Linked DNA regions of Homo sapiens: all the other regions are linked to region 2. The links are contacts of gene promoters, found by promoter capture Hi-C in blood cells and fetal thymus (Javierre and others, 2016). All regions are on one chromosome and are shown on one strand. Each heading gives the region's core, a stretch centred on a gene start or on the middle of the fragment in contact. The rest is flanking DNA. Distances are from core to core; before and after follow the strand shown. Region 1 holds the start of ZBED4 (zinc finger BED-type containing 4). Region 2 holds the start of LMF2 (lipase maturation factor 2). Region 3 overlaps ALG12 (ALG12 alpha-1,6-mannosyltransferase).

Evidence for each region. The method cuts DNA at HindIII sites, captures the fragments that hold promoters and counts their contacts. A CHiCAGO score of 5 or more calls a contact.
Region 1: a fragment that was not itself captured here is called in contact with the fragment with the promoter of LMF2 in region 2 in 5 of 17 cell types (total B cells, erythroblasts, monocytes and 2 more); the score reaches 8.6 in total B cells.
Region 3: a fragment that was not itself captured here is called in contact with the fragment with the promoter of LMF2 in region 2 in 2 of 17 cell types (neutrophils and fetal thymus); the score reaches 7.0 in neutrophils.

Annotation. Positions count from the first base shown.
Region 1 is chr22:49,853,232-49,856,669 of GRCh38, forward strand. ZBED4 (zinc finger BED-type containing 4) reads left to right here and starts at 613. Exons shown (of 2, transcript NM_014838.3): 1 at 613-758. LOC124905147 (a long non-coding RNA gene) reads right to left here. Exons shown (of 2, transcript XR_007068156.1): 2 at 1,271-2,055. LOC105377205 (a long non-coding RNA gene) reads right to left here and starts at 281. Exons shown (of 5, transcript NR_188597.1): 1 at 1-281. RefSeq lists silencers at 1-50, 71-800, 971-1,260. The HindIII fragment of the contact is 470 bases long and covers 1,545-2,014 here.
Region 2 is chr22:50,506,049-50,509,040 of GRCh38, forward strand. LMF2 (lipase maturation factor 2) reads right to left here and starts at 1,654. Exons shown (of 14, transcript NM_033200.3): 1 at 1,534-1,654; 2 at 734-987; 3 at 590-618; 4 at 237-454; 5 at 1-165. The coding sequence starts at 1,627. NCAPH2 (non-SMC condensin II complex subunit H2) reads left to right here and starts at 2,176. Exons shown (of 20, transcript NM_152299.4): 1 at 2,176-2,397. The coding sequence starts at 2,290. RefSeq lists an enhancer at 1,385-1,434 and silencers at 1,655-1,754, 2,425-2,714. The HindIII fragment of the contact is 8,515 bases long and covers 1-2,992 here.
Region 3 is chr22:49,912,382-49,915,842 of GRCh38, forward strand. It overlaps ALG12 (ALG12 alpha-1,6-mannosyltransferase), which reads right to left. Exons shown (of 10, transcript NM_024105.4): 2 at 1,223-1,462; 3 at 1,004-1,136. The coding sequence starts at 1,384. Among named protein-coding and RNA genes, the nearest start is that of ALG12, 4.3 kb to the right of the region's middle. The HindIII fragment of the contact is 2,774 bases long and covers 6-2,779 here.

The DNA.
Region 1 (3,438 bases), core at 530-3,029, 650 kb before region 2:
GCACCGCCAGCCCCGGCCCCGCGCTCGCCCAGAGGGCCGCCCTCCTCCCGCCGACCCGGCTTGGGGCTTAGGCGTTAATCCCGTCCCCCGGGGGGGCCGCGCGGGGAGCCCCGATCGCCTTAGGGTCAACGGCTTAGGTCCCAGCCCACGAGGCCTGACCGCACCGCACTGAGCGGCCTCTGCGCCAGGTAAGGGGGTTCGGGGCGGGACCGGGAACCGCGCTGCTAGCCGTCCCGGAAACCCGCGGTGGGCCGTTGGGTGCGCGCCGAGCCGCTGCCAACTGCCAAGCCACGGGACGAAACCAAGGCGCCCGCGCCCCGCCCAGCCAGAGCGCCTAAGCCCTTCCCGTCGCCCGCCAGCGCCGGAGCGCCCACTGCGCCTGCGTAGTTTGCCCTCCTGGACCCGGGGGCGGAGCCGAAGCGCGCATTGCGCCTGCGTCTTCCGCCCGACCCCGCCCCAGCGGCCGGGCCTCCGGCGCTCCGTCCTCCCGCCCGGCCAGGGACGAGGCGGGGCGGGTACGCGGACACTGCGCCTGCGAGAGTAGGCCCCGCCCCCGATCGGCCCCGCCCCCGGCCAGCCCCGCCCCGCGCCGCGCGGGGCCCTGGGAGGGGCGCAGCGTCCGGCGGCGTCGCGGGCGGCGGGCGGCGGGGCCGCGGGAGGGGCGCGGGGGCAGACAAAGCCGCGGTAATGAATGGAGCGTCCGCCCGCGCCGCCGTCGTCCGCAGCCGGCCGGGAGCCGCCCCAGAGGCCGGGCCGAGGTGAGTGCGCGGGCGCCGCCGCCCCGCCGCCTGCCGCGAGCCCCGTCCCCCGCGGACCGCGCCGGGGCCGGGCCGGGCCGCGCCATTGTCTGCGCCGCGCCGGGGCCAGGGCCGGGGCCAGGCGGGCGGGGGCGCGGTTCCGTGGCCTCGGGGTCCCCGCCCGGCGCCGCCCCGGACCCGCCCCCGCGCGGACCCCGGCCCTGACAGCTGGCGCGGGGGCGGCGCCGACTGAGCGGCCGAGTGCCGGGGGTCGGCGCCCGGCCTGGCCCACGTGCCCGCGCCGTTGCTTCCGGGCGGACGGGACGGGGCTCGGGCTCGGGGCGCCGCCCGGGTCCGCCGGGAGCGCGCTGTCCCGGCCACGTCGAGTTAACCCCGCGAGCCCCGTCCCTGGGACTTCTCTGGACGTGTCATTCCCGTCCCACCTCCAGGAAGGGCCACCTGGGCCCTGCTTCATGTCTCAGCCCAGACGGGTCCTTGCGACGCGCCCCGAGGCAGGTTATTGTACGTGGTTCTGGGGATGACCGTTCACATTTAATGAATAAAAATGTAACTTGCCTTGCGAACCATAATTTCAAATGTTTTTCGACTGCAGTGGTTTTCCTACACCCAAATGAGCTCGCAGTCAGTTTTGTTTCTTCTTTTGTCCCGTTGTGTGGCCCACACCGCCTTCGTTGCTAAGAGAATCGCAGCCCCTCGGGCTCCCTTCTGCGCCTTTCTATTCCGGGTGGCCCTGGTAGACCCGGGCACCTCTGTGGAAACACGTCCCGGCCAAGCTGAGCCGTCAGAAGCTTCTGTTGGTGTTCTCGTGTTGGTCGAAAGGGAAGTTATTTATTTTGAAGTTAACTCTGATCAGATTACGTTTTTAGAAATCCATTCAGACCTCATAGTGAGGCCAGTTTGGTAAAGCAAGGGCATCCTGCGACTTTTTACACAGAAATGTTTTTTATTTTTTCTGTGTATGTCATTCATAGTGACAAAATTGAGGCTAGGAAGGATTTGGTTGGGATTTTTTTTTAAGTGCTATGAATAAGCCACATTTTGATTATGAATTAATTGCAATTACTAAACAAAGTTACTTTGCAAGAGGAAAGTTTACAGGAGTTTGATTCCATACTCCGAGGGTTTCCAATGGGACGTCCGTACAAGGCTGCACACTTCCCGTAGTCCTTAAACGGATTATATCTGCTTGTCATGATTGGCTTTTTTTCAAGAAAAGATCTAGCACAAGTTAAGAGAGATTCTGTGAATCTTGAAAAAGCTTCAGAGGCCCGGTCTTTGAGGTGAGGACACAGTTAATCTATATGGAAAGAAACCTAAGACTTTTAGTCCACTTGACAGGTGGTTACAGGGTCTCCCCCAACACACACTCTTGTCCAGGTAATTCCTGAATAAGGTGGTTGATGTTGTTGGATGTAAAACCTCTGCTCTTTAAGGTTACCTCCTCCCCAACCCCCTCCACACACACAGTGAGTAACTCAGCTGTGCAAAGTATGTCCATAACACCTTGCAGAAAGACTAAAAAAATTACTAGGGGAGCGGACTGACTTCTGTGTGTGTGCAGAGGAGCTGAGAAGCAGCTTCTTTAGCGAAAGGTGTGTGTGTGTGTGTGTCTCAGATCCTTGGTGAGGAGCCCTGGGGAGTGGACTCCTGGCGGCATGAGGAGCAGGAAGTGACCGTGGTCAGTGCCGTCCTTCACTTTGTTTTGCGTTTTTTTCTTTGCCTGGCTTTAGCTTCTGGTCTCATTCTCTTTGGTGTGGTGGTTGTCTTTTGAGAGGAGGGAGCAGGTGAAACAGCTGGGCGTGGCTTTGCCCAGCCCTGGGGTAGAGGCCAAGCTGGCCCTTCCTTACCAACGTTGTTTCCTTCACTGTTTAAATCTCAGGACCTGAGAATGTACCTATAGGAATTGCTCTTATTTACATTTGGCTGTGTAAGAAAGTCACTGTGCCTTTAGCCCGTGACACCCCTTAGCGGTTTGGTTTTGGCTTTCTCTTTTAGTGTCTGTGGATTCCAGCAGCTCTCTGGCTTCAGCCCTTTCAAGGATTCGGGCCTCTCTGCATCCCAGCCTTCCAGGCCCTTCTGCTCCCCACTTTTTAGCACCTAGGTTTTTCTACATTCTGCAGTACCTCAGATCCCTTCCTTGGTCATCACTGGATATGTGCTTTTGTAGTTCAAATTCTGGGAGGCATTGTTAGGAATAAAATAAGCTCTTTGCCATTTCTGAGGCGGAGGGGAGCAGGAGAGACAGAGGTGCTTGCCTCTCTGCCTGCTGGGGCCATGGTGGTTTTCAAAGAAGGCCCTGGCCGTAGGGAACATGGTGGTGGTGAGGAGCAGCGTAAACCAGAGAAAAAGGCTCAGTAAGTGCTTCAAGGAGAAACACCGGCAGGTGAGAGCAGGGGTAATCCCAGTTTCTCAGGAAAGCATGCTCCGGAGACCTCATAGGGAGAGGAGGTTGCCCTGAAGGGTCTGGGGGCGATGGCGGAAGCCCCAGGAGAGCATTGTCCATGAGGTGCAGAGGCAGCCTCACGGCATCCCAGTGCGTACCTCCTGCCCGGCCCAAGCGCCTGCTGCTGAAGCCGCCTCCCAGCTCCCCCGGGTTGTTTCGGAATTCAGGGGACATGCAGCCTAAATGACCCACACTGGAATCCCGGCCGGCTTCCCATCCCTCGTTCTAGGTGAAGGC
Region 2 (2,992 bases), core at 404-2,903:
CAGCCAAGCGCAGGCGTCGAATGGGGGCGAAGAACAGGGGCGGCACAGCGATCTCAATTAGGAAGGTGGCCACCACGCTGAGCTTGTGCAGCCAGACCGGCAGGTGGTGTGCGAACCAGGCGGCGGGCGTGGGCAGGCACTGGGTCTCGTAGTGGTAGGTGAGGGCTGCAGGCGAGGGCAGGAGTCAGGGCTGGCCGAGCCCCCAGACTACCCCAGGTCCAGACCGGGCCCCTCACCAGTGAGCCCCCACCACGCAGGGCAGCGGCTGGTCAGCTTGACCACGCCTGAGGCGAACATGAGGCGGAACAGCAGCCATCGCACCAGCCAGAAGGGGAGGTCTTCGTGGGGCAGGGCCCCTGCCTGCCTGCCCTGGGGGGCCTCCTTGCGGTGGGAGGCTGGCCTCAGCGGGGCCACCAGCACGGCCAGGAAGCCAGTCTCTAGCAGCAGGGAGTCCCTATGGGGAGAGCAAATAGCACCAAGAGCCCCTCCCCACACAGCTGCTTCCCTCGGAAAGTCCTCCCAGGAAGGGCAGAGCCCTCCCCCACCCCCTACCCAGCCTCCCACAGCCCCAGGCCCAGCCGTCACTCACCACTGGAAATAAAGGAACACCTGGCCCACCTGCGGAGAGAGGGGCTGTCAGGGAGCGGGTGTGTCTGTGGACTCAGGTAAGGTAGAGGCAGGGGTGGGTGGTGGGGGTTGGAGATAGAGTGAGCTGGTCACAGGTCCCACTTGCCTGGCAGGCTGACAGGTAGGCGGCCCAAAGCAGCAAGTAGATGACAGGGTGGCGCAGTGGGCTCAGCAGCAGGGCTCCCAGGGCCACTAGTGCACCCAGCAGGCTCAGCAGCTCCAGGCCCTGGGCCGTGTCCAGCCCCAGTCTCGGCGCTTCCCACAGCAGCGTCGGGGTCTCCCACAGCTGCTGCCAGCGCCCCTTGCCCTGAGGCCGCAGCGTCCTCCTTGCAGGTAGGATGCCCTCGGGGCCATACAGGCCTGTGGGAGGGCATGTCATGGCCAGGCCCTGGACAGCCCTTGCAGACTAGACTACCTCTGAGTCAGGGCCTGCAGATCCCCCAGCCTAGGTCAGAGCATGCGGATACCTCCATCCCTAGGTCAGAGTCTGCAGTCCCTCCAGAGCCCGTCCCCCAGGTCGGGACCTGTCAAAACCCCGTCCCAGGGCTAGAGGCCTGCTCAACTACCTGAGTCAGGGCCTCCCACCCAGCAGAGCCCACTGCCCTCTTCCAGGTCTCAGCCCGATCTCCTACCTGTCCCACCAGGTCTGGGAGGAAGCCTCTCTCCCACCTCTCTCAGAGTTCTGTCCCCCACCCCAGGTCAGAGTCCAGAGCCTTACGGGAAATGGATCACCGCACACCTTCCTACCCCCACAGCGGCCTGCAGGACACGAACCGCCGCCCCCTACCCCACGCCAAGGCCTGGCCCTCACTCCCAACCCCGGACTGCGTGAGTGCCGGGCACAGAGAAAAGAGGACATAGGGTCCCGCGCCGAGGCTGGGGGTGTCCCACCCTGGGTGCCTTCACCTGGGATTTGCGTGTAGAGGGAAGCGAAAGCAAACATGAAGACGGCCGCCACGCCCTGGAGGAAGAGCTGCCGCGGGAGCCGGGAGCCCGCCATGTCCGCTACGCGGCCCGCTAGAGCAGGGCCCGCCCTCCGCGTCCGCCCGCCCGCGGCAGCCCCAGGCCCCGCCTCCTCACCGCCCCGCCCGCCCAATCCGTGGCAGCCCCAAGCCCCGCCTCCTCGGCCCGCCCGCCCGCCCGCGGCAGTCCCAGGCCCCGCCTCCTCACCGCCCCGCCCGCCCAACCCGTGGCAGCCCCAAGCCCCGCCTCCTCGGCCCGTCCGCCCGCCCGCGGCTGCCCCAGGCCCCGCCTCCTCACCGCCCCGCCCCCCCAACCCGTGGCAGCCCCCAAGCCCCGCCTCCTCGGCCCGCTCGCCCGCGGCAGCTCCAGGCCCCGCCCCACCCCGCCCCGCCCGACCCACGGCGGCCCCAAAAGCCCTCCCGTCCAAACTGGTGGCAGCCCAAAGCTCCGCCCACCCCCCCCTCCCGGAGGCTTCGACCCCGCCCCGCGACTCTTCCGGTGAGCTCCCGCTGCGCGGCGCCGGGGTTCGCCTCTCTGGCTTTTGCCCACGTTACGTCATAGACATGCGCGCGACGCCGCGCCTACGCATTTTCCTGGGCGGGAACAGCAAAATGGCGCCAGAACTAGTGGCGGGCTGAGGACGCCGTACCCCTCGGAAGGCAGCCCTGCGGTCCCTTTGCCGCCCGTTCCCTCCCGGACATGGAGGACGTGGAGGCGCGCTTCGCCCACCTCTTGCAGCCCATCCGCGACCTCACCAAGAACTGGGAGGTGGACGTGGCGGCCCAGCTGGGCGAGTATCTGGAGGAGGTAAGGGCGGCGGGGGAGTGACGCGGGGTGGGCCGGCGGGTGGGGCTGCGGGGCGGGGGCTCCGGGCCCGGGGCTGTGGGCGCCCCACCGTCTCCACGCCTATGGCTATCTGGCGCTCTGGCCGCGCAGGTCCTCGGGCTCCCTGCTTCTTTTCAAACTCCATCTCTGCCTCCCCAAATCATCCCTTGTTGGATTAGCGTGGACCTGTCATTGCAGGTTTCTACCCGTCAGCGAGCCGTGAATGATTGAGTGGGTGGTGACCAGCCGTTTCTCTAACGTAGTGGAATAGACTAGAAAGCATTATTGCTTTTATTGCAGTTATTGCGAGCATGCTTGTGTGTTTGAGAGGTCTGGATCACGATGTCAGAGGAATTTTTTATCTTGGATTTTCAAACCAATTTCAAGCTATTGCCATGCTCTATCCTGTTAGCGATTAGTGTTTCTTCCATGTTTGACAGCCCTGTCTAGACCTGTGTTAAGCTGTCTGCTCCATATTTGCGCTTCATTTTTACTCCTCAGCCCAGCTCAGTCTGGCGTCCACGACACTTAAATGTTTCTTGTCTTGATCAGCAGTGATCTCCATTCTACCAAATCC
Region 3 (3,461 bases), core at 143-2,642, 590 kb before region 2:
GCAGAAGCTTCCAAGGGAATGTGGACTCAGCCCCGGAATTGCCTGTGGACTTCCTTTCCCTGGCTCGTGGCCCCCCAACTCCTCCCCATTTGGGGCTTCCTGATGCCTCTACAGGACATGCACGGCTTGTCCAGCTGTCCCCGTGCCATGGTGGGTTTCCGTTCCCAATCTGCCCCTTCAAGAAGCAGAACTGCTCCTTCCCCAGGAACGTGCTACTTCTTAAAGCTCTCCACACAAGCTGGACTGACTCGCTGGAAGCATGTCTGGGTATTAAAAGCAATAAAAGCGTACTGAAATAAAAAAGTGGTGATTGCTGACTTCAAAAACTCAGGTTGTGTGACTGGGCGTGGTGGCTCATGCCTGTAATCCCAGCACTGTGGGAGGCTGAGGTGGGACAATCACTTGAGCCCAGGAGTTCAAAGCTGTAGTGAGCTATGATTGCACCACTGCACTTCAGCCTAGGTGACACAGCAAGGCCCTGTCTCAAAAAAGAAAAAAAAATCGGTTTTTAGAACAATATGTACAAAACGTTCTAATTTTTTTTTTTTAAAGTCCTCATGTGGGCACAGAGAAAGACCCAGGATTTGCACACAGGCCCTGCAGTGGTGGCCTCTGGGAATGTGAGGTTTCTGTTTGTAACATTCCCCAAGGCAAATGGTGCTGCTTCTGCAGGAATAAAGGCTGTTGACCCCATGGGGGCTTGCCAGGTGAGGCGGGAGCAGCAGGCTCAGGTGGCGAGAGCTGCCTCACAGGCAGTCGGCATTTCTCTTGTACCTGCCGTCACCCCTAATTTCACAGTCAAGAGTGTGGAGGCACAGAGGGGCTGACTCAGACGTCTTAGGCCTGACCTGAGCACCTGCTCTGAGCCGCCATGCCACGGTGATCGAGGGCAGGCAAGACTAACAGACAGCGTTCCTGGGCAGGAGGGACCGCGGCCTCGCTGAGGTCACCCGATGACACCACAGTCCCTCACTCCCTCCTCCTTTGTTGAAGACCCCCTTACCTATTAGCTGAGAGTAAAACTTGGACATTTCTAACAGCGAAAGCACGTAAACCGCGGGGCTGGAGAACACTGCGATCACCACTGGCCCGAGGAACGTCCTGGGGACGACTCCGGGGAACTCAAGATGGTCGTACTGCGAGGAGAAGGGCAGGTCAGTGCACCGGGGCCCTGCCAGCTGGTAACATGAGGTTTTCCCCAAAGACAGCAGGGGCCCCTCACCTGCTCCAGGTCTTGCCAGTGGTAGAGCAGGTCATGTGTGGCCTGCAGGTTGAAGCTCTCCTCCACTTTGGTGTAGGGACAGATGACCAGGTGGACAGTGGCTACGGCCACCAGCAGCCCCAGCAGCAGGGGCCGCCTGCCTGATGACCCCTTTCCAGCCATTCCAGGCTTTCAGCTTCACGTACCTTCACAGGCCAACAGTGCGAGACACCAGCCGTTAGCACTGCCACTCCACGCATGCTGGAAAAGTGGAAACAGATTCCTGAGGTTCGAAAGTCACGCTTGCGCTCACGTTTGGGAGATCCGGGTAAAGGGTTAGCAGAATTCTCTGAACTACTGTCTTAGTCGCACTACTACAAATCTGAAAACGCATCAAGATGGAAAGTTTGGAGAAAAAATCACACTTGAGAATCTTTCATACTGTAACCAGTGATCTGACACTTCCAGCTCTGTGAATGTTTTTCTAGGCAGAAGGATCTCAGTCGCAGAACCCTGAGTCTGACCAGGCCTGGGCCACGAGGGCAATGGAGGGTGGTAAATGGCCCCTGCCCCCCAGTCTAAATCTGGCAGGAGAGTCAGCAAAACCCAGGCTTGGCCCCGAGGGAACCGGCTGAAGAAGACGGAATGGGAGGCTGAGGGGTGCCAGTTAGCTGGGTGGGAGGCACCAAGCTGGAGAGTGGTGGACAGGGGCCCCGGGAGGGCAAGAAACTGAACGTAGTACAGCTGCTGGGACACAGGGCTCGAGTGGCCAGCAAAGCCCCCGCTCCCAGGAATGGTGGGATGGGGCTGTGGACGCCTGCGCCGAACCCCACCCTGGGGGCTGGGAGAAGCCATGGCCGGCTTTCCCAAAGGTGGCACCACACTGGCCATGAGCCTGCATGTGAGCCTGGGAAGACTGGCAATGGGTCCCCCAAACACTAACAGGACAACCTCAGGGGCCCGTGGCACGGAGCTTCCTGAGAGGCCAGCAACATGTCCAGCTGCTACACGTGAGAGACCAAGGGAGGGGAGGGGGCAAACTCTTCACGTTTCTGGCTTCTTTTAAAACAGATTTGATTTTATTCAATCCAAACCAGAAGGGCCAGAAGCAAAGGGAGAGAGAACCCCAGGGCTTACCATTTATTAAAACTACTTTAAAAATTTTTTTTAAGAGACAGCGTCTTACTCTGTCACCCAAGCTGGAGTGCAGTGGAGTGATCATGGCTCACTGCAGCCTCAAACTCCTGGGATCCTTTTGCCTGAGCCTCCTGAGTAGCCGCAGCTACAGGTGTGGGTCACCACACTCAGCTAAGTTTTCTTATTTTTTGTAAAGACAGGGTCTTGCTTTGTAGCCCAGGCTGGTATGGAATTCCTGGCTTCAAGCCATCTTCCTACCTTGGCCTCCTGAAGTATTGGGATTACAGGCGTGGGCCACCATGCCCAGCCAAAACTATCTTTTGATCAAACGGAGAGTTAAGAAGTATACAAAGATGGCAACCAAAGGAAAATCTGTAGATTAGAAGGAAGGAGAACCCTATTTGATATGGTGGGCAGGGGGTGGAGAGAAAGAAAAAAGAAAGCTTTAATAATTTTACGACTGAAATGGTATGCAGTTCTCTCCTTTGCCAAATATAAAAACCTGGGGCCGGGCGCGGTCGCTCATTCCCGTAATCCCAGCTCTTTGGGAGGCTGAGGGCCAGGTGCGGTGGCTCATTCCCATAATCCCAGCTCTTCGGGAGGCTGAGGTGGGTGGATCACGAGGTCAGCAGATCAAGACCATCCTGGCCAACATGGTGAAACCCTGTCTCTACTAAAAATACAAAAATTAGCTGGGCATGGTAGTGCACGCCTATAATCCCAGCTACTCGGGAGGCTAAGGCAGGAGAATCGCTTGAGCCCAGGAGGCAGAGGCCGCAGTGAGCCGAGATCACACCACTGAAATCCAGTCTGGGCCACAGAGCGTGACTCCGTCTCAGAAATAAATAAATAGATAATAAAAAAATTTAAAAAAATAAACTTGGTATCAAACAAAGAGAAAGGTCGAAGGACTAGGTTAGGAATCACTAACTGAGGGAGGGCCCACTCAGCTGTCTCCCACTTGCTAAGACACAAGCTTTTTGACGGTGGGGGGTTTTTGATGCTGGATGATTTTTCCCACCAGCGCAGCCTCAGCACCAAGGACAGAGGCCAGCCGCTGTGGCCTGAAGGCTGCCTCGCTGCCACCTCCCCTGCTGGACTCATCCTGCGGGCAGGGCTTGCT